Regions from separate parts of the Homo sapiens genome. Here all the other regions are linked to region 1. Evidence: promoter capture Hi-C in 16 types of primary human blood cells and fetal thymus (Javierre and others, 2016). All regions are on one chromosome and are shown on one strand. Each heading gives the region's core, a stretch centred on a gene start or on the middle of the fragment in contact. The rest is flanking DNA. Distances are from core to core; before and after follow the strand shown.

Region 1 (4,898 bases), core at 625-3,124:
GAAAACTGGTGCATCACCTTGTCCTTAGCAATAAAATGTGTTGAGCAGAGGATTGGCTGTCTGCCCCAAGGAGCCCACGTGGCCCACGTCAGGCTGGGGGGTGTATCTAGAGTCATAGGCTCTGGAGCGGGGCTGTGTATTTTAAGACAAATCAGTAAGGCATTCCCTAGGAAGTTCCAGAGAGTGGGTCCTTTGCTTGTCAAGCTCTGTATTAGGCCAAGTATGGTGGGTCATGGGAGCAGGGACACTTCTGGCTCTGAGCACCTCTTTGTTGTGCTTGCTCTGCCTTAGAGACGGGCAAGATGAGGTAACAGAGGAAGCACCAGACCAATGAGTCCTCTCAACAGAGTATCTCTCACTGCTGCCCCATTTGATACATCTTTGTTGAACTGGCCTAAGTTCATGCCAGCATCTGTGCTCTATACAAATTGTGGAACCAGTGGGAAGGATGGGTGCATTTTAGGTGCTTGAAAAGCAAGGGACTCAACCTCCAGTGGGATCCTCAGATTGCTCTCCGAGCTGTCTAGTTGGTGAGAAGCTTCCCTGGAGGAAGACCCAATCTCCTTTGGCTGGTAGATCCCTGAGGTCAAAGTGGACAAGGATGGGGAACCACAGAGCAGGGAGGGGGGCAATGAATAGGTGCAGGACTTGGGTGCCCCGGAGCTGCACCGGCTGGCCCTTAAACAGCCAGGCACTTCCTGTGGCATGGCCCTGTCCAGGTGCAGGAGAGGCTTAGGTCAGTTCAGCTGCTCTGGATGCTTCCTTGTGTCCCTGGGGGTTGAGAGGTGGTTGCTACTTGGTATCTCATTGTGGAGAAAGGGAGGTGCAGGAGGTGATCTTTTCTATGTCAGCTCCCTCCTGGGGCCCAGGGAGGGAAGTTGGCCTTTTTTTTTCTTTGCCCACACTCCACTTGGGGATTCCCAGGGGATGTAGCAAGGGAGGCTGGGCAGAACCAGGCCTTAGTGGATTGGTGAGAGAACACTAATCCATACATCTTTGGAAGAGAGGAACACTTCACCAGCCTTTTTACACAGGATCCCTACCTTTCTCGATGACCCCACTGCCTCCAGGGGTGGGCGCTGGGTTTAATCCCAGCAGTTTTTACTCAACAGCTGACCAGTTTTCCAGAAACTGCACTTTTTTTTTTTGGTCAACCTAATAACTCTTAGGAAACTGCAACTCAGGTGATCCAAATCACACAGACCGGCCCGTTCTCTCCCCTACTGGCTGCCTATGCAGTCGGGTCGACCTCAAGAGAACTGGCCCCAGCCAAAAGCGGCACCTCCCGGCCTGCCAGTCCCTTCCTGCCTTAGGCAGCTCCTCCCAGAAGCCTTTTTGTAGGGCAAACTGCCTTCCCTTTGTAAGGTAGGGCCTTTGGATCCAAGGTTGCAGTTTAAAGACCACCCCGACTTTGTTGAGGAATTAAGTTTTAAATTCCGCCCCAGGCGGATAACACCAGGGCTCAGCCGCAGGAATGAAAAAGGAGTGGGAGGGCTGCAAAGTGTACGTGGGGCTTGGAGGCCTTGTGCCACGCGCGGACTAAAAATGTTCTACGAGTCTCTTAACGCTCACCCCCGTGCCCCCTTACCCACCAGGGCCCACGGAGGTCCGAAGCTTTCGGCCTCAGTGAGCGGAATGGGTGCGCTCACGACCTGGAGGGCGAGATGAGATGTCCCTCGGCGTGAAGTGGCCGTGACTACCCTAGCACTTTGCGTTCCCCGCGCGGGCGACGAAACACGCTCTCGAGGGGAGAGAGCCGTGCGTCCTCTGGGCCGTGAAGCCAGGGGAAGAGGGTTCCTCTAGACAGCTCGATGTGCCCGGGAGAGACACCCACGCTGAACCTGCAAGCTGGGGTGCTCCACCAGCGCGAACCTCTCGCCCCGCACTCGCCGCAGCACTGCTCTCGTGGTAGGCGGGGTGGGCGGGACGGCAAATCCGCGGCTCCTGCGTCTATTGGGCTGCTCGGGGCAGCGCAGCTCCGCATTGGCCAGGCCCTCGCTCCGCCCGGCTTCCGCGAGCCCATTGGTCGCAGGCGCCCGACCGGGTCGCGGCCGCGCGCTCCGCCCGCCGCTGCGTCCCCACTATGGCGGCGCCCATGCAGCCCAGCGCGTTGTGGGCTCCCGCCGGGGTCCCCCGCGGCTGTCGCCGCCGCCTACGCCGCTGCCTCCGCCTTCCTGCCCCGCGTCGGGCCGGGCGCCACCTCCCCCCTGCCTCCCTCTCCGCTGTGGTAAGGGCCTGCCCAGTGCGCTTCGGGGCGCGATGGCTGACCGCGAATAACGGTCGCCGCTCCGCCCCGCCCCTCCCCCGCCGGCCGCGGGTCCCGGGCTGGGCGGGGCGCGGAGCCCGCGCGCTAGTGCCCGGGAAGGCGGGGTCGGGGCACGGCCCAGTCGTCCTTCGGGCTGGGGGCCCAGTACCTGGATGACCTCTCCTGGGTGGGGGCCGCCGAGCCTGGGGGAAAGGCCGGCCGGACGCAGGCCAGGAGGTCTGAGATCATCTCCGTGTGAAACCCCGCAGCGCTGCGCACCTTGGCGCAGAGCACGGACACCGTCATTCGGGCCCTGCTGTGGGAAAAGGAAAGAAAAGTCCAGGGAGCGCCTGAGCGGGAATCGGCAGCGTTTGGGTAGCGGTTGTCATTGCTTACTGCTCTAGCGGGGGCCAGAACTGGGGTCAGTTTGATCGGCAAAGTACGCCTCTCTTGCTTCCTTTCCTTCTGGCACTTTCCCCCGTTGTGTCCTCGGTGCTTTTGCTTGCAAGAGAAAATATCTTAGTGAGGAGGGCAGGTTTGGTTAGGAGAGTGTCCCATGAACATTTTGGATTCCTTTTTACAACAATGTCCATTTTTATGATTCCTCAGTAAGCCTCATTTATGTTTCCTTCACGTATGAGGAAGGAGTGAAACCTGATAACTGAATGTAATTAATTGAGGGAAGGACCAGTGAAGGCGGCTATTACCTCAGAAAGTAAAATACTCAAACTTTTCAGTGGATGTACTGTGAATTATAGATAGCTGGACATTAAGGTAGGAAAAAACTCTTATTAGGTTACTAAAAGTAAGATAGTCCCCATGACAAATTAGGTTGTTTCTAAGGCAGAATTATCTTGTAGAGATGATCACTGAAATGTTTGGTGTACTTTCAAGTCAACAGAGGATTAAAAGGAAGCTGGCACAGAAATTTATAGCCAAATGATACTTTCAAATAATCTCTTAAGGCAATACAGCTCCTCCTATGATTAGAGATTCTTAAGGATATTTTGAGATATTAAGTGGTGAATCTCTCCATTTCGCGTGTCTAACTGTCTAACCATGGTTTAATAAAAATAAAATGTTAACGATGAAACAAGACATTCATGTTCTCAGAGACTAACAGACTTTGTATCAATCAATGGAACGCCTCTTGAGTACATATTTTATGCAAGGCATTGACTGAGGGGAAACTCAAAACCATTTAAGATAAGAAACTTGCTCTAATGGGCCTATAATATACTTGAGGGAATAAAGCACACACATGACAATGATAACTGTGATATGGTCTCTAGAATTCCAAGATGGTAGGTACTCTGAGAAACCGAGAAAAGGAGAAATCCATGTGTTTGAGGAAGGTTTCACAGGGAAGCTGAGGCTTGAATTGGGTCATGAAGAGTGGGTAGCCGGCTGTATGAAGGGGAAGAAGTGAGCAGATGAGAAAGTGAGGATGACAAAGGTGCAGGGGAACCTGAGATGCTCATGGGTGGTTCCAGGGGGTTTCTTAGCAGAAAAAGCAGGATATGAGGTTGCACAAAAGGTAGGTTGATGGCATTAATCCAAGAGGTACCTTTGTCCTGTGTGGTGCAAAGAGTAAACAAGTAATAGAATTTACTTCAAAGGAAGCTGTAGCTAACTATCAGGAATACAGTAACACTTTACTTGTCATTGTCACTTTTTCTTTTTTCTTTTTTTTTTGAGACAGGGTCTCCCTCTGTCACCCATGCTGGAGTGCAGTGAATGTGGCTCTCTGCAGCCTTGACTTTCTGGACTCAGGCGATCCTCCCACCTCAGCTTCCCAAGTAGCTGGGACCACAGGCAGGTGACCTGGAGAATTAAAAAAAATTTTTTTTGTAGAGACAGGGTCTTGTCATGTTGCCCAGGCTGTTCTTGAACTCCTGGGCTCAAGAAATCTTCCCACCTTGAGTTCGAGACCAGCCTAGCCAACATGATGAAACCCCGTCTCTACCAAAAAAAAAATACAAAAAATTAGCCAGGCGTGGTGGCAGGCGCCTGTAATCCCAGCTGCTCGGGAGGCTGAGGCAGGAGAATCGCTTGAACCCGGGAGGTGGAGGTTGCAATGAGCCGAGATCGCGCCAGTGCACTCCAGACTGGGCAACAAGCGTGAAACTCGGTCAAAAAAAAGAAAGAAAGAAATCCTCCACCTCAGCCTCCCAAAGTGTTGAGAATATATGCGTGAGCCACCACACCTAGCCCATTGTCGCTTTTCTGATTCACCTCAGCTACTTGGAATAACAGTTCTCTCAACCCAGAAGCGGCACCTCAAGTTTATTCTTACTTTTCTTCTTTTTTTCTCCCCGTGTTTTTGGTTGGGTGCCAGGTCTTGTTGACCCTACTTCCACACTGTTTCTGGCATCTGCTTCTATTTTTGAGTCAGAGCCTCCCTCTGTTGCCCAGGCTGGAGTGCAGTGGCCCCATCTCAGCCCACTGCAACCTCCACCACCTGGGTTAAAGTAATTCTCCCGTCTCAGCCTCCTGAGTAGCTGGGACGACAGGCGTGTGCCACCACACCCGGCTAATTTTTGTATTTTTAATAGAGACGGGGTTTCACCATGTTGGCCAGGCTGATCTTGAACTCCTGATCTCAAGTGATCTGCCCACCTTAGCCTCCCAAAGTGCTGGGATTATAGGCATG
Region 2 (4,898 bases), core at 983-3,482, 320 kb before region 1:
GTGTTTTTTCATGCTTCAAGACCTTGTTCAGAGTGTTCAGCTGTCCAGAAAGCAAGGCAAAGCTGTCCAGGACAGATGGCCTGGTGGTGGTAACAAGGTGTAAGAATGTTGTACCCCTTCCCTGGGTGGTTCTTAGTAAAATAGTCCTAGTTCCTTCAGGCTAGGAACACTTGGATTCACCTCCAAAAGTCTCATAGCCCTATGACTAGCCTAAGTGGGAACAGACTAACAGGGATGACAGGGCTATGAAAGAGGGACATAGTTTCAGTTTATGAAACAGACGTAGAAAAAACCCAGTTCATTGTTTGAATGGGGTGAGGAACAGTGGCAAAATAGGAACCAGGGCTACACTGTTATAACTAAAACTTCAGAAACCGGGTAAAAGCCTCCTTTCCAGCCTGGAAATAAGATCCACACTTCAGAGTAGGTTGGCTCTAAAAGACTCAGCCACATCTGTGGCAAGAGATCCAGCACGAATAGAGCTGTAGTGGGAGGACCTCCTCACCAGAGAAGTCAAAGGGTAAGAATTGAAAGCTAGAAAGAACTTGGGTTAGGAAACTGAGCATTTCTCTACTTCCTTGCCATGGAATCCACTTGCTAAATGTTAGGAAACCCAGCTCTTTCCAAATCAAAAGATGTTTGCAAACTGATAAATGGTTACATCATTAGAAATGTCCTATTCATCAGGAGGCTAGGCCCCCCCACCCATAAGCCCTTCCTAGCTTGCCCTGGTAACTCTTACCAGGTCAGCCGGCCATACTCGTTCTCCAACTTGCAAATGAAACTCCCCAGAGAGTTCTTCAGATCAGCCACTTGACTCAGCAGTGCATCTAATGATGCCTCAAGCTGCTTCTCCTCTCTCTGCACCAATAGGAACAGGTTGGTCACCCAGATAAACGAGTATGACACATAGAAAGGAGGGCTGGAAAGCCAAGGAGATGGTGTGCAACACCAGTCAGGTAACACAGGATCTCATTGGCATAGGATAGCCAGGTTGTTTTCTATCTTTGGTATTTGGGTTATAGACAGCATCAACCCTGAGACCTTCCAACCTGTTTGCCTGACCCCAAGTCCTTCCACCAACTGATTCCTTTTCCCCATCACCTCCTAATCTATGCCTGGTTTTTCTCTGTGTTAGGTACACCCTACACTCCCTCACTGAGACATTTTCGACAGACCTAATGCCAGGAGATCATTCTCTCATGTGCACCTCTGTAGCACATGCACTCCAGCTTCCTCCATCCTAGCATCTGTGAGCCTGGCTGTCTTGTCAGTCTCTGGGAAATCTGCCTACTCATGAAGACTTCTCTGAACACCAGTCCTGCTCTCCCCTTTCCCTCCCCCAACCAACGACTCCAGCTTTCCATCTGCTCTCATCATTTTGTTTCAACCTTCTCCTTGCTGAATTAATATGCAATCATCTATCTCTGTGTCAATATTCCCGTGCCTCTTTCACAAGCTCAGTCAACCCATTAACATTTATTGAGACTACCAGCTGCAAGAAACTAAGTGACAAATGAAAAACAAAAACCACACATGCTTCTAAGCACTGGACAAACAAATTAAAATGCTGGGGGTCTGCAAAGCATTTCCTTCCCATCGGTGGTCTCCTGTTTTACTCCATTTCTTCACCCTTAACAACTATAGGGCACAGGCTGGGAAGAGGGATGCAAAACTGTCTTGCAAACCTGCCTGACAGAAACTTGATCCCGGGTTCCACCATGGCCTCTGATTATAAGCTGCTTAGCTTTCAGCCATCGCGGCCCACAATTCCCTCACTGCTTGGGCTTCTTTCCAATTAGATCCCCTGCTATATCGGCAACCAACAGCCTCCATCCAGCAGCTTAGGACAGGGCCTGAGCCAACCCACCACCTTCTTGAGCCGTCTTCCTTGGACTGCATCTCAGCCTCCCCGTATTACAACCTAATCCTTTCCCACGCCAAGCAAACAGGTGCTGCCTCCTCCCTCCGGATTTAGCCCGACTGTCTCCTGTCAGGCAAGCTCCACCCCCACCTCTAATCGCCGCCGCTCCCGCTCCAATTAGCCTCGCCCCCCAGCCCACATTCCCTTATCAGCCGTGGGTTCTGCCCTCTCTTCTCAGTCCCAACTCTTCATTCTCCTTAGCCAGCCCACTCTCGGTCCCTGTACCCGAAGCTTGCCAGCCGCTAGTACGCCCAACGCAACTCTCACCTGCATTGCGGCGGCCGAGGCGGCTGCCACGATTTCACTTCCGGTTTTCCAGTCAGCAAACGCCTACGAGAAGGCTTCGTCCACCAATCAGAAAACTGGAACTCGGCCCTCCCACCAACTTCCGGTTCCTGCTGGGTGCCGAGGTAGCGAGGTCAGGGGTCAAGAGTGGAACACCCTCACTGGCCCGGGCCGGCGCGGGAGGGCTGTGTGATGGCCTCGGAGCGCCCGGAGCCGGAGGTGAGGGGCGGGCGGGCGCAGCACTGGGCCCCGAGATCCGAGGGGGAGGGTCCGGCGGGCAGGCGTGGCGTTGGCCTCCTCTAGGTCTGGGGGTGGCCGGGCTGCGTAGCCTCGGCAGGGACCAGCCCAGCCCGGAAGGCCCGACTATGGTACCCCTGCGGACTGTGTATGGGACGCGGTCCGCAGTTTCCTCGGGGAGCTAAAGGAGTAACTGTTCGCTTTGTTTTGTTTACTGACATGTCACCCGCGTCGTCGTCTCTAAGACTTATAGCGGTGTTAACAAAACTTGTATTTTGACTTTCTGTTGCAGTTTCAATGGGCAACACGGCAGTAGATTTACTTTGCTGGTTTTTGCATTTCTTTAGGCATTGGAATACCATAAACAGCATGAATTTATTTAGTTCTAGGGCTCATGCTTTTAGAAAAGCAGCTTTAATTTCATGAAAAAAACATTTGAGTCGGACTGAGACCTCGTTCCAATATTGGCGCTGTCATGTAGCTAATCTGTGCAACCTCAGGCGAGTCTTCCCGGATCCTGTTTCCTTCTTTATAAAATATCTGTCTTATAGTGTGTTGTGAGAATCACATGTAATAAACCAGAAAGGTGATATGATATATTCGTTAAATGCTAAGGAACATGCAAGGAACCTTATATATGTTGTGTCATTCAGACTTGTGCAAGGAAGGTGGCATTCTCACAGAGGAGAAAACTGAAAAATGAGAAAGATTTAGTACCTTACTCAAATGCCACTCATCCAGGAACTAGCAGTTTGGAGTTAGAAGATCTGAGCTTAAAATCTCAGATTCGGATAAAACACCACCACCAGGAAAGGTGCCAACATATCAGTAGGTGGGAAGGGTGAGAGATGTGTATAATGATAGAAATAGTATTCATTACTGCATACATACTGCATGCTCAGTACCATTCTAAGCTCTTTACCAATATCAGTTAATCCTCAGCCCTATGAAGTGGACACTGTATCATCTCCTTTTTTTAGTTTAGGAACTGAGGCACAGAGATATTAAGAGTAACAAAGTAAGCCGGGCGCAGTGGCTTACACCTGTAATCCCAACACTGGGAGGCCGAGGTGGGCAGATCACCTGAGGTGAGGAGTTCGAGACCAGCCTGACCAACATGGAGAAAGCCTGTCTGTACTGAAAATGCAAAATTAGCCAAGCATGGTGGCGCAGGCCTGTAATCTCAGCTACTCGGGAGGCTGAGGCAGGAGAATCGCTTGAACCCGGGAGGTGGAGGTTGCGATGAGCTGAGATCATGCCATTGCACTTCAGCCTGGGCAACAAGAGTGAAACTCCGTCTCAAAAAAAAAAAAAAGTAACAAAGTTACACAGCTATTAAGTATTAGAGTCAGGACTCCAAAACAGATGGCCAGGCTCCAGTCCTTGTGTTCTTAACCATATTGTTCATGGTATAAGTAATAAAGTAGCCACAGAATGGTAAATCTCCAGTTCACTGGGATTTGGTGTGGTAAGACCCAACATTGAATATGGTGGTAGGAAACTATGCCTTATTTAAAATAGTCATGTTCACAGAGGTGGTAGAATAGCTCATGCATCAGAAATATCAATCAAGATCAATCAGAAATATTAACACAAGAAAAACTATGAAACAGTTTAGAGGATGTTTCATTATAGATTAAAGTGAAAGGAGGTGGAGGGATGTTGTGGGGAAATGCAACATACCTTTTAGGCAGATAGTCTAGGACAACACCGTCCTGTAGAAATCTAAAGCAAGCCACATGTGTAATATTAAATTTTCTGATAGCCACATAAAAAAATGAAACAAGGCCGGGCGCGGTGGCTCACGCCTGTAATCCCAGCACTTTGGGAGGCCGAGGCGGGCGGATCACGAGGTCAGGAGATCGAGACCATCCTGGCTAAAACGGTGAAACCCTGTCTCTACTAAAAAAAATACAAAAAATTAGCTGGGCGTGGTGGCGGGCGCCTGTAGTCCCAGCTACTCGGGAGGCTGAGGCAGGAGAATGGCGTGAACCCGGGAGGCGGAGCTTGCAGTGAGCTGAGATTGTGCCACTGCAGTCCAGCCTGGGCGACAGAGCGAGACTCCGTCTCAAAAAAAAAAAAAAAAAAAAAAAAAAAAAAAAAAAAAAAAAAAATGAAACAAATGAAATAAAATGTAATTATATATTTAACCCAAAACTCCCAAAATTTTCAAAATGTAATAAAATACAAAACATCGTGAGATATTTAACATTTTTTTTGGTACCAAGTCTTTAAAATCTAGTGTTGTATTTTACACTGATAGCACATCCCATCTTGGTCTAGCAACATTGTAAGTGCTCAGTAGCCCCATATAGTAGTCTTTACCATATAGAGCAGTACAGATCTAAAGTAATTTCAAGTCAAGACACACAATCCTGGGAGTCTCAGCCAAAAGTTAAGCTTTTTTTTTTTTTTTTTTGAGACGAAGTCTCGCTCTGTCGCCCAGGCTGGA
Region 3 (4,898 bases), core at 777-3,276, 290 kb after region 1:
TTGGAGTCAACCCTCCTTCCCGACCCCCTCCCCCTAGCCCAGCCCCAGTCACTGTCAGGGTCGGGCCAGCCCCTGCACTGCCTCGCAGAGTGGCCTGGGCTAGGTCACTCCACCTCTCTGTGCCTCAGTTTCCCCCCCTTGAGTCCCCTAGGGCCTGGAAGGGTGGGAGGTATGTCTAGGGGGCAGTGTCTCTTCCAGGGGGAATTCTCAGCTCTTGGGAACCCCCTTGCTCCCAGGGGAGGGGAAACCTTTTTCATTCAACATTGTAGGGGGCAAGCTTTGGTGCGCCCCCTGCTGAGGAGCAGCCCCAGGAGGGGACCAGAGGGGATGCTGTGTCGCTGCCTGGGATCTTGGGGTTGGCCTTTGCATGGGAGGCAGGTGGGGCTTGGATCAGTAAGTCTGGTTCCCGCCTCCCTGTCTGAGAGAGGAGGCAGGAGCCCCAGGGCCGGCTTGTGTTTGTACATTGCACAGAAACTTGTGTGGGTGCTTTAGTAAAAAACGTGAATGGAGCAGCTCCCTTGTCTGTTTGGGGGTGGGGGTCGGGTCCCTGAACGTGGTTACCCTGAGTGTGTTGTGGTGGAAGGGCACTTGGGGAACCTGGCCCAACAAGTAAACCTGACCCGGGCCATCCTGGTTCTCCAAGCGCTGCCACTCCCTAGGCTTTCACTGGCCTTAAGGGGAAGTTTGTCCTTGCACTGCTTCCGGGACAGTGGAGGCGACGAAGTAATAAACCCGTGGACCCAGATTTCTCAGGTCTTAACACGTTCCCTGAGGCCTAAAGGTGCCCAGGGCCGAGCCCAAAGTGCTTGGGTCAGGGCTCGGTGGAGCGCCGAGGTGAGTCTGAACTCCCAGCCGGCACGCGCCGCCCGCCGGACCAAACACGGGAGGGGGCGGGGCCCTAGAGTCGCGGCGTGGTTTCCCGGGTGATGGCCACGCGGAAGAGGTGGGGCTAGGGCCCTGGTTCCCACTGCCTGGTTTCTGGGCCCCCGGCATCCGAGTCGGCCAAAAGCCGGGCAGAAGAGAGCGCCAAGGACTGGCAGTTCCGGAACGGGCAATCCCAGCCGAGGGGACCAGCGGCAGAGCACGGGTGGGGCTTGGGAGAGGGCGGGGCCCATAGAGGGGCGGGGTTTGGTGAGCGTTGCCGGCGGGCCCGCGGTACCTCCCGCACTCTGACCTGCGGCCCGTAGGTCCGAGCCGGGGACGGCGGCGTCGGTGGGTCATGCTCCGGCACTCCCCCTCGCTGTGGGAGCTGGTGGAGGAGCACGTTCCGCTCCGGGAGCGACGCGAAGTGAAGAGGATTCTGGGGGAGGCGGCGGTGGACCTGAGCCTGGAGCTGCGGGCGGAGGTGGGGAGAGGGAAGGTGGGCCACGCCCCTGGCCTGCCCCACGACTCGGGTGATTTCCCACCTCTGCGGGTCCCTGGCCCTGCCGGGTAACTCCCGAGATCCTATCCTGGTCTCCCCTTTGACTCCGCCCTCTCCCTCACTCCCCCAGCCCCCACCATTCCGGACACTCCCCTCCCCAGTCGCAAGGTATCCCAGCTCTCCTTGCAGGTGGCGATGTTACGGGCACTGCTCCAAGAGGCTCGATCCTCTCAAGCCCCCAGCTCCCGCCCCATCTCTGACCCCTCTTCTCTTCTGGCACCACCGCCTCTCCTAAAGGACCTCTTGCGCCAGGAGCTCCGGCAGTTGCTCCAGGGTCTCCGCCACAAAGCCATCTGTGAGGGCAGGTGGGAGCCTCAGGCCTGGGCCCTTTCCCTAGATACCAGGTGGGCTAGCGCTGCCCCTAACAAGGAGCCAGGGTTGCCTTTTCTGTGGTTTCCAGAAAGGAGCCTCTCAGCTTCCTTCCTGTGCACCTTCTGCAGGGACCAGGCCCAAGCTTGGGTCCAGTATAGCCCCAGGGTCCTGCACTTTGCCTTGGAGGAGCCCAGGTGTGATTTGCCAGAACAGGAGATATTCCAGATGAGAGGTGGTGGGCCCAGGTAAGGTGATGGTAGGAGAGAGGGATCTGTCCCTGCTTGGCAGAGGGCCCTAGCCCACTGGTGGGTTGCACCTGGCTCCATGCAGGAGATTCCAGTCACGGGCTGGGCACTTCCACCGCCACTTGTGATAGAGATTATCAGCCCATGAGGGCTACTGAAACCCAGAGGAAACACCTGCCTAGCCTGGGGACAGGCAAAGCTTCCTGGAGAAAGTGGTTTGATCTGCGTGTTGTAGTATGAGGAGCAGTTTTCAGGGAGATGAAAGAGAAGAGCTTTGTAGGAAGAGGGAAGAAAGGAAGCCATGTCCAGCAGGCGGTTGTTCCTCTGGCCTAGAGAACAGGAGTGAGGGCTGGGCTAGGGAGGCAGGGAGAGCTGAAGAGGATGGTCACAAATGGTATTTACAGCTGGGACTGAATGAGATAAAATATTCATAAGTGGATGGCAGCAACTTCTTATTCTAATCCTCACACAGCCTGAGGAGGTGGGCAAAATCTCCATTTTGCACAAGAGGAAATTAAAGGCCGGGCATAGTGGCTCATGCCTGTAATCCCAGCACTTTGGGAGGCTGAGGCGGGAGGATGGCTTGAGGCCAGGAGTTTGAGATCAGCCTGGGCAATACAGGGAGACCCCATCTTTACAAAAAGTGAAAAAAAAAATAGTCAGGTGAGGTGGCGCATGCCTGTATTCCCAGCTACTTGGGAGGCTGAGGTGGGATAATTGCTTGAGCTCAGGAATTCGGGGCTGCAGTGAGCTATGATTGCACCTGTGCACTCCAACCTGGGTGACAAAGACCCTGTCTCTAAGAAAAAAAAAAAAGAAGCCTGGGCAACATAGTGAGACCCCATCTGTGCAAAAAAATTGAACAGGCGTGGTGGCACGCACCTGTAGTCCCAGCTACTCAGGAGGCTGATGTGGGAAGAGCACTTGAGCCCGGGATGTCAAGGCTGCAGTGAGCCAAGATGGTGCTACTGCACTCCAGCCTGGGCAACAGAGCACAATCTTGTCTCAAAAAAAAAAAAAAAAAAGGAAAAGAAACTAAAGCTCAGAAGCGATAAGTGATTTGCCTGAAGTCACACACAATGAAGGGTGGCAGAGCTCATTTGCAAACCTAGGCTCCCAAACTCTTACTCTTTGCACTATATTATATTGCCTTTGTGAGAAAAGAAACAGTTGCCTAGAAGTGATATTTGGGTCCTGAAGGCCTGGGGTGAGCAACATGCGGAGAGTGATAGTGACTTCATTGCCAGCAGCGGTCACAGAGATCTCAGCATCATCAAGGACCAACTGAACGTGTCCAACATTGACCAGGTGGCCAGACACCTGAGGTGAGGCCCAGGGGCACCTGCATGTGTATAGGCAGGGGTGGAGACAAGGATGGATCTTGAGGTGCTGGGATTGTGAGACAGGAGGTGGGTAGTATACTTGGCGGGGAGGCCCATGTGCGTAAGGCTGAGAGGTGGAAAGAGCTGGCTGCTATAGAGCTAGTGAGGTTGCTTTCAGGAAGCAGCCAAGTACAGATGCCACGGCCGAGCATGATGGTGCATGCCTATAATCCCAGCAATTTGGGAGGCCGAGGCAAGAGGGTCATTTGGGCCCAGGAATTCGAAACCAGCTTGGCCAACATGGGAAAACCCCATCTCTACCAAAACAAATACAAAAATTAGCTGGGCGTGGTGGTGCACGCCTGTACCAGTTACTTGGGAGGCTGAGGTGAGAAGGGATTGATTGAGCCCTGGAAGGTAAGGCTACAGTGAGTCATGATGGGTGGCAGAGCAAGACCCTGTTTCTTTCTTTCTTTCTTTCTTTTTTTTTTTTTTTTGAGATGGAGTCTTGTTCTGGCGCCCAGGCTGGAGTGCAGTGGCGTGATCTTGGCTCACTGCAAGCTCCACCTCCCGGGTTCACACCATTCTCCTGCCTAAGCCTCCCGAGTAGCTGGGACTACAGATGCCCACCACCATGCCCAGCTAATTTTTTTGTATTTTTAGTAGAGGCGGGGTTTCACTGTGTTAGCCAGGATGGTCTCGATCTCTTGATCTCATGATCCGCCCATCTCAGCCTCCCAAAGTGCTGGGATTACAGGCATGAGCCACCTCGCCTGGCCGACCCTGTTTCAAAAATAAATACCTTGACACAGGGGTAGCCTGTGTCAGAGGATTTTAAGCAGCGGAAGGGCTGTGATGTGGGGGAAGATGGAGGCAAGAAGAATCACAGTGCAGAAGTGTGGGAGAGAGAAGGATGCCTGCCAGGGTGAGGCAGGCGAGGGGAAGATACTTCCTGCCCAGAAAGAGCCTCACAGGGGCCAGACGTCTATGCTGGGTCAGCCCCCAAGCAGCAGAGGGCAGTGTGGGCTGAGGAAGGACAGGTTGGGTGGGGCTCCTGCTGAGGCTGGAGGTTGGGGCCATGTGGTGGACTCAGCTGAGCCCTGGTCCTGTGTCTCGGGTTCTGGCTGCTGCTCCCTCATGTCCCAGGGGCCTTCTGGAGGAGGAGTGTCACACCTTGGAGAGGGAGATCCTCATCCTGCAGGTGAGCCGCAGCCCTGGGCCCTCCCCCGAGCCTCACTGCTGAGCGTAGACTCTCACCTGGGTGAGACCCATGTACCTGTGTGCATACATAGGTGCATGTACAGGCTATGTGAGTCCTGCATCCATTTCTCAGGGGTGCATGCTTGTGTGCACCTGCAAAATCCTGGAGGCCCAGGATTCTAGTTGAGCCCTTAAGGCCAGGGCCAACCGTTTTAGGTCTTTTGCCTCCTTCCTTTACCTAAGTCTGGGTACAGGCCCCACCACTATCTTGCCAAACTCAGCTCTTCCGCAAGGCTGGTATTCCCTGGGGAACGTGGCTGCCCTCACGGTGGATGGGCTGAAGGGGCTGCACGGGCCTGCCCTGGGGATCTTGGCCTCTGTATCCTGCCTTGCCCC

The links. The method cuts DNA at HindIII sites, captures the fragments that hold promoters and counts their contacts. A CHiCAGO score of 5 or more calls a contact.
Region 2: a contact is called between the fragment with the promoter of MED8 here and the fragment with the promoter of KDM4A-AS1 in region 1, in 2 of 17 cell types (M2 macrophages and fetal thymus). The highest score is 6.2, in M2 macrophages.
Region 3: a fragment that was not itself captured here is called in contact with the fragment with the promoter of KDM4A-AS1 in region 1 in 1 of 17 cell types (monocytes); the score reaches 6.3 in monocytes.

Annotation. Positions count from the first base shown.
Region 1 is chr1:43,705,467-43,710,364 of GRCh38, forward strand. It overlaps KDM4A-AS1 (KDM4A antisense RNA 1), which reads right to left and starts at 1,875. Exons shown (of 5, transcript NR_033827.1): 1 at 1,593-1,875. It overlaps ST3GAL3 (ST3 beta-galactoside alpha-2,3-sialyltransferase 3), which reads left to right and starts at 2,070. Exons shown (of 12, transcript NM_006279.5): 1 at 2,070-2,227. It overlaps KDM4A (lysine demethylase 4A), which reads left to right. Exons shown (of 22, transcript NM_014663.3): 22 at 1-52. It overlaps ST3GAL3-AS1 (ST3GAL3 antisense RNA 1), which reads right to left. Exons shown (of 4, transcript NR_125986.1): 4 at 3,926-4,069. RefSeq lists enhancers at 1,505-2,022, 1,748-1,827 and silencers at 1,958-2,457, 2,488-2,537. The HindIII fragment of the contact is 3,706 bases long and covers 1,613-4,898 here.
Region 2 is chr1:43,387,568-43,392,465 of GRCh38, forward strand. It overlaps MED8 (mediator complex subunit 8), which reads right to left and starts at 2,233. Exons shown (of 7, transcript NM_201542.5): 1 at 2,192-2,233; 2 at 743-861; 3 at 1-80. The coding sequence starts at 2,197. It overlaps SZT2 (SZT2 subunit of KICSTOR complex), which reads left to right and starts at 2,332. Exons shown (of 72, transcript NM_001365999.1): 1 at 2,332-2,428. The coding sequence starts at 2,402. RefSeq lists an enhancer at 743-882 and a silencer at 2,323-2,652. The HindIII fragment of the contact is 2,691 bases long and covers 2,154-4,844 here.
Region 3 is chr1:43,990,660-43,995,557 of GRCh38, forward strand. It overlaps CCDC24 (coiled-coil domain containing 24), which reads left to right and starts at 940. Exons shown (of 9, transcript NM_152499.4): 1 at 940-1,087; 2 at 1,188-1,345; 3 at 1,553-1,728; 4 at 1,864-1,980; 5 at 3,228-3,305; 6 at 4,449-4,503. The coding sequence starts at 1,220. B4GALT2 (beta-1,4-galactosyltransferase 2) reads left to right here. Exons shown (of 7, transcript NM_003780.5): 7 at 1-509. RefSeq lists silencers at 1,094-1,203, 1,344-1,393 and an enhancer at 4,178-4,472. The HindIII fragment of the contact is 302 bases long and covers 1,876-2,177 here.